Regions from separate parts of the Homo sapiens genome. Here all the other regions are linked to region 4. The links are contacts of gene promoters, found by promoter capture Hi-C in blood cells and fetal thymus (Javierre and others, 2016). All regions are on one chromosome and are shown on one strand. Each heading gives the region's core, a stretch centred on a gene start or on the middle of the fragment in contact. The rest is flanking DNA. Distances are from core to core; before and after follow the strand shown.

Evidence for each region. Contacts are between HindIII fragments. The CHiCAGO score rates a contact against its expected background, and 5 or more counts as called.
Region 1: a contact is called between the fragment with the promoter of LINC03008 here and a fragment that was not itself captured in region 4, in 1 of 17 cell types (endothelial precursors). The highest score is 5.8, in endothelial precursors.
Region 2: a contact is called between the fragment with the promoter of CPA4 here and a fragment that was not itself captured in region 4, in 6 of 17 cell types (erythroblasts, M1 macrophages, total B cells and 3 more). The highest score is 7.6, in erythroblasts.
Region 3: the fragment with the promoter of CPA2 here is called in contact with a fragment that was not itself captured in region 4 in 6 of 17 cell types (M1 macrophages, M0 macrophages, endothelial precursors and 3 more); the score reaches 7.5 in M1 macrophages.

Annotation. Positions count from the first base shown.
Region 1 is chr7:130,140,414-130,144,021 of GRCh38, reverse strand. It overlaps LINC03008 (long intergenic non-protein coding RNA 3008), which reads right to left and starts at 2,291. Exons shown (of 2, transcript NR_149034.1): 1 at 2,250-2,291; 2 at 1,404-1,763. RefSeq lists enhancers at 1,730-2,393, 2,582-2,721, 2,902-2,981, 2,394-3,057. The HindIII fragment of the contact is 6,567 bases long and covers 1-2,705 here.
Region 2 is chr7:130,291,077-130,294,410 of GRCh38, reverse strand. CPA4 (carboxypeptidase A4) reads right to left here and starts at 1,250. Exons shown (of 11, transcript NM_016352.4): 1 at 1,163-1,250. The coding sequence starts at 1,230. RefSeq lists an enhancer at 756-845. The HindIII fragment of the contact is 9,413 bases long and covers 740-3,334 here.
Region 3 is chr7:130,264,791-130,268,337 of GRCh38, reverse strand. It overlaps CPA2 (carboxypeptidase A2), which reads right to left and starts at 1,475. Exons shown (of 11, transcript NM_001869.3): 1 at 1,386-1,475. The coding sequence starts at 1,456. The HindIII fragment of the contact is 5,023 bases long and covers 1-2,767 here.
Region 4 is chr7:130,806,427-130,809,598 of GRCh38, reverse strand. The region is part of intron 3 of LOC105375508 (a long non-coding RNA gene); the gene reads right to left. The region is part of intron 2 of LOC105375509 (a long non-coding RNA gene); the gene reads left to right. Among named protein-coding and RNA genes, the nearest start is that of MIR29A, 69 kb to the left of the region's middle. The HindIII fragment of the contact is 3,814 bases long and covers 1-3,172 here.

The sequences.
Region 1 (3,608 bases), core at 1,042-3,541, 670 kb after region 4:
CAGTGGCCCGATCTCAGCTCACTGCAACCTCCACATCCCGGGTTCAAGTGATTCTCCTGCCTTAGCCTCCCAAGTAGCTGGAATTACAGGCAAGTGCCACCACGCCTGGCTATTTTTTTTTTTGTAGTTTTGATAGAGATAGGGTTTTGTCATGTTGGCCAGGCTGGTCTTGAACTCCTGACCTCCAGTGATCCGCCCACCTTGGCCTCCCAAAGTGCTGGGATTACAGGCATGAGCCACCTCACCTGGTCGATGTGGAAGGACTCTTAAAGCCTGGCTGGGGCTACGGGCCTGGTGGCAGTAACAGCATCCACCTTCGTTATCTTTTTAAGGCCAGTCTGTTTTTCTTTTTAGTTGTAACCTCTGTGCCTCACATCGTGTGCTTCACCAGGAGTGTGTTATGCCACTCTGCCAGCCTCTTCTAAGGCCGCAGCACACTTCCCACTTGTTGGAAGGGGAACTGGGGAAGGACACAGCCTACTGACCCCATGGCCCCATTTATCCCCCCATCCACCCCTCCATCTGACAGCGTACACTGAGCATCTACTATGTGCTAGGCTCTAAAGAATACAGACAGAACAAGAACAAGGCAGAGACGTTTCCAGTCCTCATGGCACTTCCATTCCAATGGAGAAAGTCTGGCAATAAACAAGGTGTGTACTAAACAAGATGGTGTTCCATTCTTTGGGAAGAGGACAGGGAGTGGAGAGTCCTGAGCAGAGGGGAAGACTATACAGTTTTAACCAGAGAGGGCAGGAAAGCCCTTGCTGCCTCACTCGCCTCACCCTAGCCCTGGCTCTGCCTCATTGAGAAGACCACATTAAAAAACTGAAGGAGGCCAGGCACACAGCCATGTGGATACTGGAGGAGGAGACCTCCAGAAAGAGGGAGCACGCTTGACCGCTCAAGGAGCAGCAAGGAAGCCACCGTGGCTGGTCGAGAGTGAGCAAAGGCACAGTGGTAGGAGTTGAGGCCAGAGAAGTTTGGACTGTGCGGGCCCTGGAGAGAGCTGGGTAAATGGGACATTTCAGGGTGTTCTGCAGGCAAAAGCAGGCCCTCCCACCCTCAGTTCTGTTCTGTCTCCGGGCAGTCCACAAGCACCTGAGGGCCCACGTGAGGAGAAGAGGCCTGGGTTTTCCGGGCCTGGAAGCTCCACTGCCAGAAGCATTCGCCCCCTGGCCCAGACAAACCAAGGTCAGAAGGCACCTCCACCCAGGTTTCCACAGGCGTCCCTGCTGCTGCTTCACTGGGCTGAAGCTACCCACGTTCACTCAGCTTTGCCAGGGCAGGATGCTTACTCCCTACAACCTCCCTCTGTGCCGTTTTTCTCCTATCCCTGGGCACGCAGGTGAAAGCTAAATGAGGAGAGACCCGCCCCACACCTGAGTGGCCAGGCTGACTCCTGTGGTGGAACGAGTTTTTAATAAAACCAGAAGAGCTTCCCAATTCCACGCCTCGCTGCAGTCTCTTCACCTTGCTCCAGAGGAAAGACCCAGAGTATGGCAGGGCTGCGGTTAGCGAGGGCTTTGGTCAGCAGCTGGAGAGTGCCGTAGTGACATGGTGACAGTCCTCGGCCCCCAGGAGGGGCGGAGGCCACCCCTCTGGGACCCCCAGCCCTAGAATCCCATGCAGGAGTGACTCTGCTGTCCCATCACACTCACAGCTGCAGCAAGGATGCCTTTCCAGCAGTCACACTCCCACGCAGGGGTCAGCCTTCCTCCCAGGGGGAGCAGGGTGGAGCGGGAGCTGGTCCTCCCAGCATACTGCAGGCGGACAACAGTGGCCTGTTTCAGGTGACACCTGTCTTTGGGCCCAGGTCCCACTTCTGTGGTTGTCCCCAGGCTGAGCTGCCCCCTGGAAGGGTTTTCTGGAAAGGACCAGAGAGGTGTGGATTTCGGAATCTCTGAGAGCTCTGGCACCTCTGTTTTCTGCTCCCTGGGTTGAGTGGCCAGAAGAGCCTGTGTGCTTGCATTTTCGGTATGACCCCTGGCCCTTATGTGTCTCTGTGTCCCCAGGCCCCTGCTCAATTCTCCACTTCACCGAGGGTGCCTGACCCCTCTCCTTTTCCCTCCATCCCCCCACTTCTGAACGCACCCCACCGTGTGCATGGGAGGGTCCTTCCTCCCTGTGGCTTTTCCGGGGAGCCTTTTCTTCTCCCTGAAGTCACCCCCGCATATCCCGGAGAGCCACAGCGCCTATCCCCTGGGTTGCCATGGAAACAGCCTTCTTTCCTCTTCCCTCCTGTTTACCTTGGTCAGGGACTGCGGCAAAAACCAGCCCGTCGCTGGAGGAGAGGGAGAGCAGTGGGCGGGGGAGCAGGGAGGGAGCCAACCCGCTCCAAACCAGATCATTCCGGTTCAGAGCGGCTTCCCCTCCGGTCCTAGGAGCCTCTCCGACAAGGCGCGCTGGGCTGCGCAGGGAGGCCCTGGGCCGAGCTGGCCTTAGTGGGGAGGGCCTGAGCCCACCCTGGCCAGCACCCCCTCCCCAGTTCCGTCCGGCCTCCATGCGTCCCTCCTGCCAGTGCTGGCGCAGCGGGGCCTGGGGCGCTGTCCCTGATTGCTGGCTGTTCCCCGCACAGGGGCGCCCTGCTGGGGCGGGGGTGATGGGAGCAGAAGTGTCTCGGCCCCAAAGGTGCTTTCGCCCTCCTGGGACCCCCGGGCACTCTCCTGCGACAGGGATGCTCTGTGTGGCTCTGGCTTAAAGCTTCCCGCTGCGTTTAGAGAAGCCAAACCCTTCGTCCCAGCCCCGGGATAGGTGCGGGGCCGCCTCTTCGCGGGGATTCCCCTGGCTCCCACCGCAAGGCTTCTTCCCCTTGCAGAAGACACCAGAAGCTGGGTTTTGTCCCTGCCCCGAACACTCTGGTCACACTTTCTAGCTCCCCGTGCACACCGGGCGGGAGGCTTTCCTTGTTTCTACGCCACACAGCTCCTATTCCCCCTCCATGGGCCACTGTGGTCATCTTGCTCGTTTGCTGTGGTCTGATCGATCGCCTCCTCCCCAATGGAAACTTCCCGAAGGCAGGGCCCGCTCACGCAGCACCCCAGCACCAATGGCACGTGCCAGATGTTCGGTGAGCGACGGTGGCCTCGAGGATGGGACGCGCGGCGGCGCCGGGCTGCGGGGGCCACCTCCCGGCCGAGTCCCCTCCCCGCTAGCGGGCGGCAGCTTCTTAGTCGTCTGGGTGTACAGACTGAAATCCACGGCTCTTCCTCCCCAGCCATGTGCGCTGCAGGCGGCAAGTCCATGGCCAGCGGGCGGGTAGCCCAGCGCACCGGGCCTTGGGGAGCCGCCCGCAGCACGGACCGCCCTGGCCCCTGGCTTCACCGCCCCTGCGCGGCTGCTCCCAACCCAGAATCCCGGGAAGCCAGGGGTGACTTCACGTCCCCGAAAGCCCTTCTGAAAGAATTTTCTCAGTAACTATCCAGGCCCATGTGCCTGCCGCCGGGTCCCAGGAGGATGAAAGTTCTCATGAACGCGACCTTGCAAGCTTGCAGACTTGGACTCCCTTCTCTGGCCCTTGGCAAATCACTGAATTTGTCTTGTCTTGGCCTGCCAATCTGTGAAACGGGGATAAAACTTCTAGGCCTGCGATTCAATACAGGCTTGCC
Region 2 (3,334 bases), core at 1-2,500, 510 kb after region 4:
AGACACAGGTGTGAACAGAAGTCATCATCATAAAACTTAGTCAATCTCATATAAGTAATTACCTCAAAAAACAACCCCAAAGTCTCATTAGCCAGATAGTAAAATAGAAAGAAAACTAAGAGACAGATCCAAGAGATATAGGATTTTATTTGGAGATGAACTTGTGTTATAGCAAAAGGGTACGAGTTTTACGTTCAGAGTTCCAGCTCCCCTGCTTCCCAGCTAAGTGGCCTTGAGCGCGTTCCTTAACATTCTAAGGCTGATTTTTTTCATGTTTAAGTGGAAGAAAATAACACCCCTGCCTGGCAAAGTTGTTGTGTGATCAAAAAGATAATGTACATGAAAGCTCTTTGCAAATGGTAAAGTATTATGCAGTAATGAGTTATTATAATTCAGTCTTCTAACAGGGCACCATGGTATCCCTTTTATCTCTCCTACCACCCAAATGTCCTCTCCCCTGCAAACCTCAAAGTATTCTGCATGGAGCGTGTTGAGCACGTGTGTGTGTGCACACACACACGCGCACACACACACGGTGTTCAGGCATGTGTCTCTGCATGTCATTTTCATAGCTGTGTCTAGGCAAGACCTGTGAAATCTCCACGTCCCAGAAGCCAGTAAGAAAGCACCAGCTCAGAAGAGGGTGTAGCTCAGGGGTAGAGCATTAAACTGCAGATCAAGAGAAGGCACCAGCTCTGCAAAGCCTTCGCCATTAACAAAGAAGTGAAACCAACAAGCTTGAGACCCAGGGTTTCCCTTTATGCATGGCGGAAATTGGAAACAAACCATTTCTGGTAACCAGTAACTCTTAGTAATTAATAACGTAGCTCTTAGTAACCAGTAACTCTTAGTAATTAATAAGGTAGGAGTAAGAAAGTAGATGCCTGGAACTGACCTTATAAGTAAGAACTAGGCAGAAAAAGAACTGGCAGGAGATGAGGGAGCTGGGGAGAGACTGCAATGATCATCTAGTCCTGATTTCACAGATGAAATGGGGTCTCAGAGAAGAGAGTGGACTTGTCCAGGATGACACAGGGGCAAAGCTGGAACAAGAGCCCAGGTCTTCTTCCTCCATGTGAGCTATTATCAGCCATTCATTTTCAGTTCCATTTGGCTCCCATATTTCTGAAATAACCAAATAATAAGTCCAAAAGGAACTTACCCAAAAAATTTTTCTTGGCCACAGATGCTGGACCCAATAAGGGCCCCAATGAACAGTATCCACCTCATGTCCCCGGGGAGTCAGTCATACAGTGGCTGAGTCAAGCTGTATTTATAAAGAGTCTGAGAGTGACTCAAGTCCTCAAAAATGCTAATGTGATTCCCAAGCACCCTTGCAACTCTGACTGTGACAGGCAGGCCCTACCAATGCCTCTCCCATTCCTTTCAAGTGATAAAGGTTGAGCATCTCAATTTACAAGGTCAGGAACTTGCTCCAGGAGCTGAAAAAGTCTGTGCCAAGGGTACCATATTGCTCATCACTTGGCATTTAAATAGTGTTTTTTCAGTGAATAAGCTAATTCCACAGTGTTGGATGGAATTTATCCTGATAGGAGAGGTCAGATTATAAACCTGGCATAGAATTACCTCTAGAATAATAATAAAAAAGTTAAGACTATCAAAGCAAGACTGAGCTGGCTCCAAGACCACATGCTTGACAAGCCCTGCCAGAGAATTTCACCAGGGCAGGTCAGGATGAGGAAAGAGGTTTGGGGCCTCTTTTATGTATCTGAAGCCTAATTCTTCTGACTCCACTAAGGAAATAGAAATGTATCAGGCAAATGATATAGAAAGGATGTTTTAGTCTGAATAAATTATCAGTGTTCCTTGGGGTCTGATCTATGGGGAAGGCTTAATGGTTTTATCAATAATAAGATTTTCAGCCGGGCGAGGTGGCTCATGCCTGTAATCCTAGCACTTTGGGAGGCCGAGGTGGGCGGATCACGAGGTCAGGAGATTGAGACCATCCTGGCTATCACAGTGAAACCTCGTCTCTACTAAAAATACAAAAAATTAGCCGGGCGTGGTGGCGGACGCCTGTAGTCCCAGCTACTCAGGAGAATGGCGTGAACCTGGGAGGCGGAGCTTGCAGTGAGCCGAGATCGCACCACTGCACTCCAGCCTGGGCGACAGAGTGAGACTCCATCTCAAATAAATAAATAAATAAATAATAAGATTTTCTTATACTTCCTAGACTGTGGGTCTGGTGTCCTTTCCGCCAAGTCACAGCTGAATAAATGGAAGACACTCATATCTCCATAACGCCTTCAGGGGCTCTGGGACCTTTGAGTCTGTCCTGGGAGCCCCAGTTCCCACAGCCTTTCCCATCCCACCCTCCCTACGGTCTACATGCTTTCCACACCCACTCAAAGGGAGTGGACACAACCAAGGGTCATAGTTGAGAGAGTTAAAGAAAAACTATCCTGACCTGTGTTAAAATGTAAGACCTAATTCAAGATTATTATGATTAGGACCATGGCTATTTCAGTAGGAAAGACTTACTGTGCTTAACACTGAATACGGCAAAGAAAACAGAGAGGATCAGTGGGATTACTAAGAGAAGACATCAAGGTAGGGGGATTCTTGCTAAAAGCAGGCCAAGGACTTATACATCAAAGTCCCCATCAAAGGTGGGGATGAGGAACTTGATCAGATATCAAGGTGGGAGGGATGACTTCGCAGGATCTTTGCTCAGGCTGGCTTAGCCAGGGCTCAAGAACCAGCCTAATCAAAAGGAGGGTGCAGAATCTCAAGTGTGGTCCCAGAGAGAGCCTTTGTTAGGAGCTGTGGAGCTAGGGGCCATCATCTCCTCTTGCTCCCTCAGGGTCCTTTTGTCCTCTCAACACTTCAACTGAATTCCTACACCCACCCTGTCCACCACAAAGCGTGGGCTCAGCGTCACTGAGATCGATGTCAGCTTTGAAGTCAGCAACAAGAACAACTGAGACCCAAATCTGTAAGAGATGTGAAGTGGGAGAATCAAGGACCAAGCATTCTAGGCAAGCTGAAATTTAGTTCCTACCTTTTCTCCCAGGGAAAATCATCCACATGAAGAAAACCTAAATCCCTAATGGGAGTCAATATCTAAAGAGAAACTGTGTGCAACCTGAGACCGAGGCTTGATAGGGCAACCAGGAAAAAGGAATGTCATTGGCTTGGGTCCCCACCATTTGTGTGTTTGTTTTTTTTGAGACAGAGTTTCACTCTGTCGACCAGGCTGGAGTACAGTGGTGCGACCATAGCTCACTGAAGTCTCAAACTCTTGGGCTCGAGTGATCCTCCCAACTTAGCCTCCCAAGCAGCTGAGACTAAAGATGTTTGCCACCATGACGGG
Region 3 (3,547 bases), core at 226-2,725, 540 kb after region 4:
AACACACACACACACACACACACACACACACACACACACACCCCCTTAATAGGGAATGAAGGATGAACAGGAAAGAGAAATCTCAAAACAATCAAGCACATCTCTTTAGGAAGAGTTCCCTTGGTGACAGAGTTTCCCCTTCTAGCCTTTCTCCACGTAGGCAGACTTCCTAAGTCACTGCCCCAACTGTTTGTGCAGTGGGGAAGGAATCAATACAATGAGCCATGTACAGGGACCAGAATATGGGTCTTCTGAAACCAAGCTCCATGCAATTTCCTACGAACTCCAGTGGAATACAGAAGTGATGGAATGTGAGCTCTTCGAGGCTCACCTGCCACAAATGGTCTGAAAATTCTTCCATTTAAGTCTCATTATTTTCGGTTAATGCATGGACTCCCAGGAGTCCTCCTTTAAAATGGGAAGGCACTGAGAAAAGTAATACAACAGGGTCATATTTCCTGGTGTGTGTTCTAAAGAATAGTAGTTCTTTGAGTTACTCAGTGAAAGAAAGAAAGAAAGAAAGAAAGAAAGAAAGAAAGAAAGAAAGAAAGAAAGAAAGAAAGAGAAAGAAAGAAAGAAAGAGAAAGAGAAAGAAAGAAAGGGCAAGCTGGGAGCAGTAGGTAGTTTATGATTAAAAAAAAGAGTACATGCTGCAACCTAGATCCCCTCTTATAGATTTATAATGCACACTGATTTAGCCAAGGCTCCTAGAAATCCTATAGTTTGTTTAATCCTCTGATTCCCACATTTATTTGACCAGTGGCTTTTTGGGACCAAACTTATTTGATTGCTTTCTTAGCTCCCTGGACCACTCTTCAAAAAATGCTGCCTGAAACCCTTCATAGAATCATGAAGCAAAGTACTTTGGAGCAAAGATGAGTCCTCCAAAGCCAGGAGAGGAGGAGTTGAGCTGAAATCTATAGCCCTGGCCTTTCTACTTCATGAGGTTCCACCACCTAGGTGCTGAATCTAAAGATCGGGGGTTAGGGCACAAGGGCTAACGTGGATGGTAAAGCCCAGAAGAGCAGGAGGAGGTGGGAGAGTAGCATTGACACCCGCTGAGTTGCCTGGAACAAATGGCCACACAGCTGTATTTTCCCTGATGTCTATCATCCCTACAGTCTGATCACTGGAGGGAAAAATGAGTAAGGACAGAGAGAAATAGGGTTATGTGTGTTCAGTTTTCACTTTTGTCTTTTCCTTTAAATGTCATTCACCTCCTTTTTGATCATCCACTCCTTTTTTTCACACTATTGACTTATCCCCAAATCTAAGAGAACTTCTCTGAAAACACTGAACACTTATACCCATTTACTCTGTAACAATCAAAGCCTCCATCAATCAGGTAAGTAAAATTCAAAGAAGCACCAGAAAGCATAACTTACCCCACAAATGTTTCTAGACAGTAGATATGCCCAAAAAGGGCACCAAAAAACAGGATCAACCTCATGGCCATGGGTTTTCCTGGAGTCCAGAATTCAGAGTCCTTCCTGAACTTTATTTGTAGGGATGGCAGCTGAGGGTGATCTGCTGGCCTTCTGAGAACTCACGTGAATTCCCACATGGGAAAATTCCCACCTGCATGTGAAATTCTCAAGGTTGTAGACATCCACCTGTGTGATATCACCAATGTGTACATGTTCCATTCCTAGGATAAGATAACAAACTTTGATGGAAAGAGAACAAAATTGCTAGAGCATACCAAGGGCAATATAGTTATGATTGAGACCATAAAACGCCACTAGCTACCCTGTGATAGAAGCCAGATTAATAGACCTAGAGGTTAAAGTCTTTTCTGGGTCTCTGACACACACACAAAAAAAAGGCCAGAGCATTTATAGTAATTACTCAGGCATCCTGTCTATCACATTCCATTAGTTTGCTCATTTGTTTATTTTTATAATGTTTACCTTGAAACACTGCAGTCACTCAGTCCACATCTGCTGAGTGTCCCTGTAGATGTGGCCCATTCCAATCCTCACTCTACATTAAAACAAAACAGAAGGCCTTTTAATATTCAATTTTGCACTTTCTCGAAAGTGATCCATCTGCATTTGCACCAAATTGATATCCCTCTTTCTGTGCTTTTTCCCAAAATGAAAATGTCTTTCTGATGACATTTCCTATAACAAGCAACAATGAAGTTGCTTGTTATAAAAAGTGTGAATTAAAAGAAAGTGTTTTCTTTAACCATCAATAATTCTTCCATCCAAAGAAAACCATTTGGCATATGTCTTTCCAAATTTCTTTCTCTGCTTTCGAGTTTTTTTCTTAAACAAAGATTAGACCATATCACGTATACTGTTCTTTAAACAAAGGTGATCTTTTCTTGTTCATAAACATAGATCTACATTAATCTGACTTTGTTCTTCATTGCTTAAGAAGAAAATATAACTGCTTATTTTTAGAAACCATAGTTTATTTAATTTTAGTTGTTCATACACGTTATATTAAGCCTAGAAAGCCTCAACCACAACAAGCAGCAAGGAAATTTTCGTCTGTCCTTTGTGTGTCAAATTTATCAGCACACACTTTAAATCTCTGGGTTTGCATTCTCAAATATCTGCTTTAAGGGGAAAGGTATATACACAGTGTTTCTGATTTTAAGAATGACTGGATTAACTTGGTTTTTCATTCTCCTGGGAGTCAGAGAGAAGACAGAAACCAAAAGGCAGAGGCCATAATTCATCCTCATGTCTCCAGCACCTATCAAATAAACAGTAGTTCAATAAACTGGAAGTATGTACTTGGAGAATCAATAAAAGCTTCCTGGAAAAAATCAAGTTTCAGGCTGGGCTCAGTGGCTCACGCCTGTAATCCCAGCACTTTGGGAGGCCAAGGCAGGTGGATCACGAGGTCAGGAGATCGAGACCATCCTGGCTAGCATGGTGAAACTCCGTCTCTACTAAAAATACAAAAAGTTAGCCGGGTGTGGTGGCGGGAGCCTGTAGTCCCAGCTACTCAGGAGGCTGAGGCAGGAGAATGGTGTGAACCCGGGAGGCAGAGCTTGCAGTGAGCCCAGATGGCACCACTGCGCTCCAGCCTAGGCAACAGAGTGAGACTCCGTCTCAAAAAAAAAAAAAAAAAAATGGAGTTTGAGCTGAGCCTTTGTGCCAAGGCAAATGTGAAAAGAGCCTGGATTTCTGGTGGTAAGAAAATATAAGCTAGACAGGGAACCAGGGGAGAGCACATGATACACAGCTGGGTTAAGGAGGAAACTTAGCCTAGCAGAGCAGAGACTTGAACCTGGGAGTGGTGGGGAAGGTAAAATACCAGAAGGTGGGCTAGAGGGCAAAGGATCTCACAATCCAAACAGAGGAGTACACACCAGATGATATGGAGAGCCTTGGAAGGTTTCTAAGCAGGTAACTGATTGATGAGGGCAATGCTGAAAATGGTGAACCTTGCAGGATGGTGCCTGGCAGAGATCCTCTAAGCAGGGAGCCAAATATGAGCCTCTTGGGGAAACCGAGATTTAGGATGCTACATCTGGACTTGTGGATGGCAGAGGAAATGTCTGAGATGGCCTTGAAGAGAGATTTCAGTG
Region 4 (3,172 bases), core at 330-2,829:
TGAAGCTAGACAACACACCTCCATTTTGTGATTTCAAAAAAACTGTCATGAGCTTGTTCTGTGTGTCAGTTACTTACACAACTCAATGCCCCACTGGCTCTGTGGGAGGCCATCACAGAGAACAACCTCACTCAACAGTCCTCCACTTTAATTGGCTCAGCACTCAGCTACTTTCCCTACACATTATGGTTTAAAGTAATAGGTGTTTTCAAGATTAACTAAAGATGTATTTTATTTAGGAGAGAAAGCAGTCTTCTTAAACAGAAAGTTCTTATTGGCTCATTTATCCACCTCTTTGATCAGCAAATATACATCCAATCTCAGCAAAGTATTTGTCATTGTGCGAGATGCTGAAGACATCAAATATGAAAAAGACCCTGCATTTCTGTCTCTAATCTCAGTCCTTAGATAGGTCACTTTTAAAACTACGTTAAGAGTACATCGTGTGGTAATTATTAAATAACTCCTTAAGAGTGATCTCTTAAAGCCACAGCTACACATTAAAGTGGCACAAAGTAGTTTCTGGAAATAAATAATTTCTAATACTTATGTGGCACTTGTAGTGTACCATTTTAATAAGTTCCTTATCCGGTACTCAGATAAAATAAGCATGCTTTCTAGAAGGTACTAGAATCTACCAATCCACTTGAAGTTCAAGTACCAATCTACTTGAAGTACATAGCCAAGCATGGTGGCTCACACCTGTAATCCTAACACTTTGGGAGGATGAGGCAGGTGGATCACCTGAGGTCAGAAGTTCGAGACCAGCCTGGCCAACATGGTAAAACCCCATCTCTACTAAAAATACAAATAATAGCCGGGCGTGATGGCAAGCACCTGTAATCCCAGCTACTTGGGAGGCTGAGAGAGAAGAATCACTTGAACTTGGGAGGCGGAGGTTGCAGTGAGCCGAGATCGCACCCACTGCACTCCAGCCTGGGCGACAGAGCAAAATTCCATCTCAAACAAAAACAAAAACAAGCACATGACTTTAAAAAAAAAAAAAGACATCCTGTAGTTCAAATAAACCTTGCAGCTGGTAAGTCCTTCTACCAGACAGGCCCGTGTACACAAAATGGCATCTTTTTATCTTGATATTGCCAACTAAAATGTGTCATGGAGAGAATTTCTCCTTAACCACAGAATCTAAGGATTTTAGAAGACTTGGCCTGGCACTGTAACGGAAGGCAGACTGTCCTCAGATTTGCAGATATATTATTTAGAATTCACTTAAAAGAGCTGGAAAATACCTTCCTTTAGTGAGAAGATTCCAAAGGCCTAGGTAATCCTATTTTTTCTGAATACTGACATCAGCAATGTAATATTAATGTCCTTTAAGTGTCAAAAAGATCATGCGAACATTTCCAGATATCAAAACTAGATGATACAGATTTGGCTTTTGGATACCATGCCAGCATTTAGATCACGTCAATTCAAACTCAACCCTGAATCTGACTCTACGCATTTCATAAAATTGCCTTGCCTGAATATAAACAGAATAGCGGGCAGCAGTAAAATTTCCACAACATTTTTCCTCTTTTTGTTCTATTTACAGCGAGAAGTTTTTGTTTGTTTGTTTCTGCAGACACACATTTATAAATGTTCTGCTCTGCATGGAAAGTTAACACTACCAGAGTGAGTTTTGTTTTAAACATGCAAGGAGATGTTTTTATATGTACAGAAAGGGACCTAATAATTATATCAAGGAGGAAAATGGGGTAGATATGTCCTGACAAGAGTGTGAGCACAGTGGCTGCACTGAAGTCATGAGGGCTCTTGCTAGCTAGGGATAAAATCTCATTATCTCCAGTTATGGGTGATAACATTTGGAAGAACACTGTTTCCAGTTAAAAGTATCCTAGTTATCTGCTCTGGAGTAATCCAAGATCCACTGAAACCAAGGCTGCTTCCCACACCCGGCTGTCATGTGTACCACTGTTGTGCTTATATTAATAATACGAGACTTCAACTCTCGGACTTCATTTCCTCCTGACAATAGCACCATGAGTTGTTTAGGAGGAGATGACAATTTAAAGCAACATTTTCTAAGTAACTGAAATAAATCCAGTCTCAGGTATTATGCCTAGAACACCACCAAGAAGCATGTCCTGATCCAGCTAGGTTGGGGTCATGGGTCCAGATCTAGCTACTCAATCCATTTTCCAAGATGGCGGTGGTCTGCATCAAGTTAAGAACTTGTTTCCCTTCCTAATTCCTTTGGCTGTGAACTGACTTAGAATTGAAAACATATTATTTTGGCTAAAATTTATGAGTTATTTCTTTGCCTCAGCTTGCTTTCTTAAGATTTGCTTGTACGTTTAAGAATAACTACAATGTAGAGTTAAACCCAGTCATATCAGAATGGTAGATTCTTTCCCCTACAAAAAGAACCCTCCAGATTTATGGATGTCTTGCTTTGACTTACATCTGTCCATGTTGCCACAGAGCTTAGTCACTTTTTTCTTTGCCTTTCCTTGGTTCCTCCTGCATTTTGAGGGTGGTAAGGAAATATAAACATTAAAATATATATTTGATTTATTGCCTGATCCATTTTCTCTGACAATAGAAATGTCACATCCAATAAGAAATTAAATCATTCAAATATGTCTTTGTAACTGGAAATTAATTCACTCTTTTATAAGAATTTGAAGCTATGTATTTAGAAAATATATACAGTCATTACTTTAGGAAACTGAATAAAATCCACTAGAAATTTGAGGAAAGGATCCAAGACATTTTCACAACTGTCTTCCCAAGATTCTTTATAGTTGAATACAAAATAAGACATGAGAGATCATAAGTCTTGAGAAATGTGTTTCATATTTAGGGCAAATAAATGTTTCCCAGCTGATTTATAATCTCTTCTTTTCTCAAAAGCAGCAAAAAACATCATTATAAAATGTAAAATGGAGAAGAATGGTCTGAAGGGCCACCATGCAGCCATACGGCACAGGATCTAGATTATGCACCACAGTGGTTCTGAAATGTGGTCCCTGGTCCAGCAGCCTCAGCATCACCTGCAAACTGGTTAGAGATGGAAATTCTCATGTCCTTCTTCAGACCAACTACATCAGAAACTGAGGATGGGGCCCAGCAGTCCCTGTCCTAACAAGTTCTCCAGGTGACCCTGATGCACACTCAAGTTTGGTACCACTGCACTGTGATTTTTTGT